2 separate regions of the Homo sapiens genome follow, and region 2 is linked to region 1. The links are contacts of gene promoters, found by promoter capture Hi-C in blood cells and fetal thymus (Javierre and others, 2016). All regions are on one chromosome and are shown on one strand. The core of a region is centred on a gene start or on the middle of the fragment in contact, and the rest is flanking DNA. Distances in the headings are between cores, read along the strand shown. Region 1 holds the start of TMEM14B (transmembrane protein 14B). Region 2 has its middle 18 kb from the start of LINC02522.

Region 1 (3,498 bases), core at 198-2,697:
ACGTTAATGCCAACTAGAAATATTCCCAAACACAAATCATTGATTGTTTTACTCTGGTACTAATTGAAATAGAGCAGAAACCAATTTCTTTAATTTATTTTATGACATGTTTTGATGGACTTTACCTACACAGAAGAGCTATGTGTTCTGGTTGAGGAACGACACTGCAAGAAGCAGCATATGGTAGAATTAAGGACGCAGGCTTTGACATTAGACCTTACTTTAAATAATAGCTCTACCAGTGACCAGGACTGTAGGTAATTTAATTCTCTGAGGTTCAGCCTCTTCAAGTATAAGGTGGGGAAGGGCTCGAGGATCATGGTGGATGATCCTAATTAAGGTTTGAGGCTTGCACCTGCATAGGGAAGAATGAGTCCCTAAAGCCATTCCCTGCTGGTTAAGACAAGTCTCATTAATTGTTCAGGAAAGTCTTCAATTAAATTGAAGGTCTGGCATACTGCAATTCCTGCAAGTTCTTAGTTATTATCAGCTCTGGCTGGTTAGAAGCAGCTATGATAAACACGGGCTTCAATTTAGCTATCTGGAAGGTAGGTGCTGCTGCAAGTGGAAAGTTTGTCTTTAAGAATATGCGCTGCAATTTGCTTTATTCACTGATGATTATATTGATCGGAGTTGTCTATGTTGATACTTGTAGGGGATGAAGGAGAGGGAGAAGTCAACGATGACAGCAAATTTTAGTGTAGAGCAACTGAGCGAATGGTGGTGCAGGAAACACAGAAGAGGAGCGGCTCGGAAGTGGGAATGGAGATAACATCATACTGTGGACATTCGGAATCCACAGAGCTGCGTGGAAATCAGATTTAACTTGCTCTCTCTCCCCATTTAAGATGCTTCTCAAGTAGCCTCACTCCCTAAAACAAACGGATATTTGGCATTGCGCCACATTATTCTGCAGCTGCCATATTTTCTTGCAGGTGGAAGGCAGGCCCTTCCTGGTGTAAACAAACAAGATCGGGCCAGAGTGACAATCCTCCCTGATGGCCCGCACCTGGTTTATACCCTCTATTAATGGGGTCCTTCAAAATCATCAGATGCCCTCCTCCCGCAGCGGTGGCCTCCACCTCTGGCCTGGCCCAGCTTACGTGGTCCAGCTTGTGCAAGATCCAATTCCAACTCCGGGTTTCCGGCTTTTGGCCACTCAGGATTGGACCTGGGACTGGAGCTGGTCGGCCCTGCAGGTGCTGGGCCTGGGGACTGAGGAAGCACAGAGATTCCCCGCCCGGTTCCCCGCCAACGGCGCTAGCCGCGATGCCCCGCCTCACTCCCCGCCCCCGGGATGCAGGGCGCGTGCTGGTAATCCGCGGCTCAAGCCCCGCCCCCACTGTCCCCATTCTCCGCTCACCTCTCTCCAAGGACACTGCGCACGCGCCACGACGTCCCGCCTTTCTCCCCGCCCTGCCGCGGCCCCGGGGCGCAGCGCGCACGCAATCGCGTTTCCGGAGAGACCTGGCTGCTGTGTCCCGCGGCTTGCGCTCCGTAGTGGACTCCGCGGGCCTTCGGCAGGTCGGTGCAGGTCTTTGGAGAGTATTGTTTTTATTTTCTGCCACTTTTAACTTTTAGGGATTATTTAGGAGTTTCACGGCCGTCTGCTTTTCGTCCCCCCGATTCAGCGGGCCTTTATGCCGTGTGGTCGGTGCTTTTCTCCTTGGGTATTTTCTGCTTGTCTTAAAAGAGGCTGTGGATGCTCGGAGCACCTGAGCTCCTGAGGCAAAGGCTTACCCTTGTAGCATAGTGTTGCCTCGTTTCCTGGTGGTTTTGTTGCTCCAGCTCTTTAAAAGCCTCCCTTACTCAGTGCCGCCTCGAGTTAAGAACTGTGGGCAAGATCCCAAGCCCGCTGCCCTTCCCCGTTTTATGGGAAATTAATTCTTTCTTTTTTTGGGGGGTGGGGAGGGGTTCTCGCTGTGTCGCCCAGCCTGGAGTGCAGTAGCCTGAATATGTCTTATTGCAGCCTCTGCCTCCTGGGCTCAAGCCATCCTCCCACCTCAGCCTCCCAAGTAGCTGGGATTACAGGTGCATGCCATCATGCCCGATTTGTGTGTGTGTGTGTGTGTTTTAATAGAATATGGGTTTCACCATGTTGACCAAGCTGTTCTCGAACTCCTAACCTCAGGTAATCCGCCTGCCTGGGCCTCCCAAAGTACTGGGATTACAGGCGTGAGCCACTTTGCCTGGCCTAATTCTTTAAACAGAATAAACGGCGTATGCATTGCTTTCCATCTTGTTAGGTTCACTGCATACAGAATACTTTTCTGTAAGAAAATAGGAGCTGTTTTTCCAAGGGTGCAATGTCACATGTGATTCTGACTTGAGTTTCCGTGTATTTTACCCTCCCCTTCTGCCCTCCTAACGAGAACTGTGAGTTGGATGCAGAAGTTTCTAAAAAAAAAAATTGAGTATTGAAATTGGCTGTTGCATCAGTGAAGAAAAGCAACATCCCTACCACCCCTCAAAAGAGACATTAAAGTAGTTGGATTAAGGGCACGGGAGTATTTGCTTTCCGATTTAGTGATAATGTGAGTGCTTAATGAAATGACTAACACATTCCCTGATTATAGAGCTGGTCAGTGGATCTTGCTGAGTTTCCTGTGGACCTATGTGAAATGATCGGCATCTGTTCAGGGTTTACTAGGTGCTAAGCACCTTTACATGTGACATCCATTGAATGCTCACAACACCCCCAGGAAATTGGTACCAGTGTTATCCTCATGGTACAGTGAAGGATACTGAGACTTAGGTTGCATAGCCTGCAGGTTGGACACACTTCTTTCTGACTGCTGGGGAGCTGTGCTTTTAACCACTGCTGATCCGGCTTGTTTTCCCCAGATGCAGGCCTGGGGTAGTCTCCTTTCTGGACTGAGAAGAGAAGAATGGAGAAGCCCCTCTTCCCATTGTGAGTAGACAGTAAATGGTTAGAGAGTAGCCAGGAGCTTCTGGAAACCAGAGTTCCTTTCCTCAGCTGAAAAGAACCCTAAGAGTAGACTGCCTGGGATGGCGTGCGGGATGGGAGGATCACTGGACCTGTGGGCCAGAAACTTGGGTTTGAGTCCCAGCTCTAGCTTTGCTTAGTTGTGTGACTCTCAGAAAGTCATCCAACCTCTGTGGTGCTTATTTTCAGTGATAGTACCTGTGGGCACATAGGACCTGTGGGGAATGATTACCTTTTAGCCCCATCCTATGACAATATGGTTTGTTTTTAAATCCAGGTTAGCACTGACTTCTCACTGACTTCTCTTGTGTTTTCAGAGTGCCTTTGCATTGGTTTGGCTTTGGCTACACAGCACTGGTTGTTTCTGGTGGGATCGTTGGCTATGTAAAAACAGGTAGGGTTTTGTTGTTACTTAGCCTCTTAACATCTTCACGTTGTTCCAGTGAAATGTGAGTGCCTGTGTCCCTGAGAAGCAATCTCGTTTGACTCAGCTTTGCTGTAGGTCCCCAAGCTGGAGTGCAGGCTTCCTTGTCAGTCTTGCAGCTCCTGCC
Region 2 (3,560 bases), core at 12-2,511, 250 kb before region 1:
ACAGCATGGATTCTGGCACCAAACTGCCTGCTTTTGAGACGTGGTTCTATGGCTTCAAGCCTGTGTGACCTTGGGAGAGTTAATCAACTTCTCAGTGCCTCATATTTTTCTTGGGTAAAAGGAGGATAATAATAGTATCCCTCTCATAGGGTTGCTGTGAGTATGATTCATTGTATGTAAAGAGCACAGAACAGCGCATGGCACATTGTGTGTTACAAGTGTTTGCAAATATTCCATATCATTCCATTCATTCATATCTTAGGCAGTACAATATGCATTAATTTGGTATTTAACCATTCTATTGAATTCAATAGATTAGAATTCAGTTATTCAATAGATTAGATTTTTATTTATTTATTTTTCATCTTTTATTTATTTTTTGAGACGGAGTCTCACCCTGTCGCCCAGGCTGGAGTGCAGTGGCTTGATCTCGGCTCACTGCAAGCTCCACCTCCCGGGTTCACACCATTCTCCTGCTTCAGCCTCCCAAGTAGCTGGGACTACAGGTGCCTGCCACCATGCCCGGCTAATTTTTTGTATTTTTAGTAGAGATGGGGTTTCACTGTGTTAGCCAGGATGGTCTCGATCTCCTGATCTCATGAGCCACCTGCCTTGGCCTCCCAAAGTGCTGGGATTATAGGTGTGAGCCACTGCGCCCAGCTAGATTTTAATTTACTAATGTAATAACCATTCTATAGAATTTTATTTATTTATTGAGACATAGTCTTGCTCTGTTGCCCAGGCTGGAGTGCAGTGGCACAATCTCGGCTCACTGCAACCTCCACCTCCTGGGTTCAAGCGAGTCCCCTGCCTTGGCCTCCCCAGTAGCTGGGTTTACAGGTGTGCACCACCATGTCTAGCTAATTTTTTTGCATTTTTAGTAGAGACGGGGTTTCATCATGTTGGCCAGGCTGGTCTCCAATTGCTGACCTCAGGTGATCCGCCTGCCTCGAACCCCCCAAAGTGCTGAGATTACAGGCATAAGCCACGGCACCCAGCCCCATTCTATAGAATTTAATGGATATAGATTACTATACCAATTTAATTTTTTCTTTCTCCCATATTCCACCCAACCTAGCAACACTGAGATATAATTGAGATAAACTTCACATACATGTACAATTGATGAGTTTTAACTTATTAAAATATCTGTGAAATCATCACTTCAGTAAAACACAGAACATATTCATCAGCCCCAAAAGGTTTCCCCGGGTCCCTTTGAGATGTCTCCCTTCCAGATAACTGCTGATTGACTTTCTGTCGCTATAGAAAGTTTGCACTTTTAGTTTGCATTTTCTAGATTTCTATATTAATGAAATCTTATAGCAGGAACTTTGTTTTCTGGTATGGCTTCTTTCAGCATTAATATTTTGAGGTTTGTCCATGTTGTTGCACGTATTAATAGTTTACTCCTTTTATTACTGGGAAGTATTCCCTTGTATGACTATACCATACTTTTTTTAATCCATTCACCTGCTGATAGACATTAGTATTACTTCCACTTTTTTTTTATTTGTTTGAGATGGAGTGTTGCTCTGTCACCCAGGCTGGAGTGCAGTGGCGCGATCTCAGCTCACTACAGCCTCTGCCTCCGAGTAGTTGGTATTAAAGGCGCACGCCACCATGCATGGCTAATATTTGTATTTTTAGTAGAGATGAGGTTTCACCATGTTGACAGGCTGGTCTCGAACTCCTGATCTTGTGATCTGCCCATCCAGCCTCAAAAAGTCCTGGGATTACCGGCATGAGCCCCTGTGCCAGGCTTTTTTTTTTTTTTTTTTTTTAAATAAAGATGTCATAAACAGCTATATACAAGAGTATATACCAACATATGATTTGAATTCCCTGGAATAAATATAGTTGATCCTTATTTGCGGGTTATGTGTTTTAAATTCACCTACTCATTAACATGTTTGTGTAACCCCAAAAGTATTAACCTTACAAGTAGTATTCATGGTCACTTGCCCATATGTGCAGAGCTGCCAAAAGTCTAAGTTCCCAGGCTTGCACATTCCCAGCTAAGGTTGAACAAGATGACTCTACTTTCTTGTTTCAGCTCATACACAGAGGTGACTAGAAAATAGAGACGGGGCCAGGCATGGTGGCTCATGCCTGTAATCCCAGCACTTTGGGAGGCCGAAGCAGGTGGATCACGTGAGGTCAGGAGTTCGAGACCAGCCTGGCCAACATGGTGAAACCCCATCTCTACTAAAATACAAAAAATTAGCCAGGCGTGGTGGAGGCGCCTGTAATCCCAGCAACCCAGGGGGCTGAGGGAGGAGAATCGCTTGAACCTGGAAAGTGGAGGTTGCAGTGAGCTGAGATTGAGCATGCCACTGCACTCCAGCCTGGGCGACAGAGCAAGACTCTATCTCAAAAAAAAAAAAAAAAGAGAAACGGGAGGGAACATTATACATTATAGGGCAAAAAGTTGCAGCTGTGGGGCCAGCTGGACAGATCTGAATCTCACCTCCGGCGCCTGTAGATCCCGGAGCATTAGGACCTTGGATGTTTTTAAAAGAATATTCTCTGATCACACGGAATTAAGTTGGAAATCAGTAGCAGAAAACGCCCCTTGGTGGAGTATCTCAGGCAAGACTCTTAACACTTTGGAACATAGTTTTCTCTTTTATAAAATAAAAGAAAATCAATCAGGATGAGTTGTCTTGGAGATTTAAGATTATAATCCATGTTAGATATATATCCTCTAGCGACAATATTTCAGAGTTAGCTAATTCAGTTTGTGGCAACTTTATAGAAATAACTACCTCGAATAATGAGAAGCAATTGTACCTAGAGGGGATGGATAGGTCTTACGACGGGTATATTTAAGAGTTTAGGAAACTACTGAACTATTGTCCAAAGTGTTTGTGTGATTTTACATTTCCAGCAGGATAGGAAATTTCCAGTTGATTCACATCTCACCAACACACGGTATGGCCAATCTCTTTAATTTTCGCTATTTTAGTGGGATTATAACAATATTTCCTTGTGATTTTAATTAGCACTAAGCTTGCAATGAATAATGATTTTGAATATCTTCTCAGGTATTTATTTACCTTCTGTGTGTCTTCTTTAATAATCTGTTCAAATCTTTTCCTCATTATTTAAAAAATCAACTTTATTGGTCTTTATTTTTAAGAACATGCTTCTCACATATTTACCTATGTAACAAACCTGCACATCCTGCACATGTACCCCAGAACTTAAAAGTTGAAGAAAAAAAATTTTAATCTTAAAAAAAAAAAACATGCTTCTGCCTTCATTGATTTTTTTTTCCCCATTTTTTTCCTGTTTTTCAGTTTATTGATTTTTGTTCCTATCTTTAGTATTTCTTTGATTCTGCATGGTTTGGGTTTAATATAGCCTCTTGCTTTATTTTGTTAGAGAGGAAACTGAAGTCATTGATGAGAGAACTTTCTTCTTTTTTAATGTAGGTATTTCATGCTGTAAATTTTTCTCTGCATTGCGTTAGCTGAATCCCACAAATTTTGATACATCATGTTTTCATTTTCATTAAGCACAAAGTCCTTTCTAATTTCCCTTTTAGTGTCTCTTTT

What was found. The method cuts DNA at HindIII sites, captures the fragments that hold promoters and counts their contacts. A CHiCAGO score of 5 or more calls a contact.
Region 2: a fragment that was not itself captured here is called in contact with the fragment with the promoter of TMEM14B in region 1 in 5 of 17 cell types (naive B cells, M2 macrophages, erythroblasts and 2 more); the score reaches 8.2 in naive B cells.

The regions. Positions count from the first base shown.
Region 1 is chr6:10,746,358-10,749,855 of GRCh38, forward strand. It overlaps TMEM14B (transmembrane protein 14B), which reads left to right and starts at 1,448. Exons shown (of 6, transcript NM_030969.5): 1 at 1,448-1,524; 2 at 2,845-2,911; 3 at 3,265-3,341. The coding sequence starts at 2,889. It overlaps TMEM14B-DT (TMEM14B divergent transcript), which reads right to left and starts at 1,227. Exons shown (of 2, transcript NR_187231.1): 1 at 1,104-1,227. RefSeq lists an enhancer at 1,008-1,057 and silencers at 1,178-1,407, 1,242-1,462, 1,418-1,477. The HindIII fragment of the contact is 12,296 bases long and covers 1-3,498 here.
Region 2 is chr6:10,498,021-10,501,580 of GRCh38, forward strand. No RefSeq gene overlaps it. Among named protein-coding and RNA genes, the nearest start is that of LINC02522, 18 kb to the left of the region's middle. The HindIII fragment of the contact is 3,498 bases long and covers 1-3,010 here.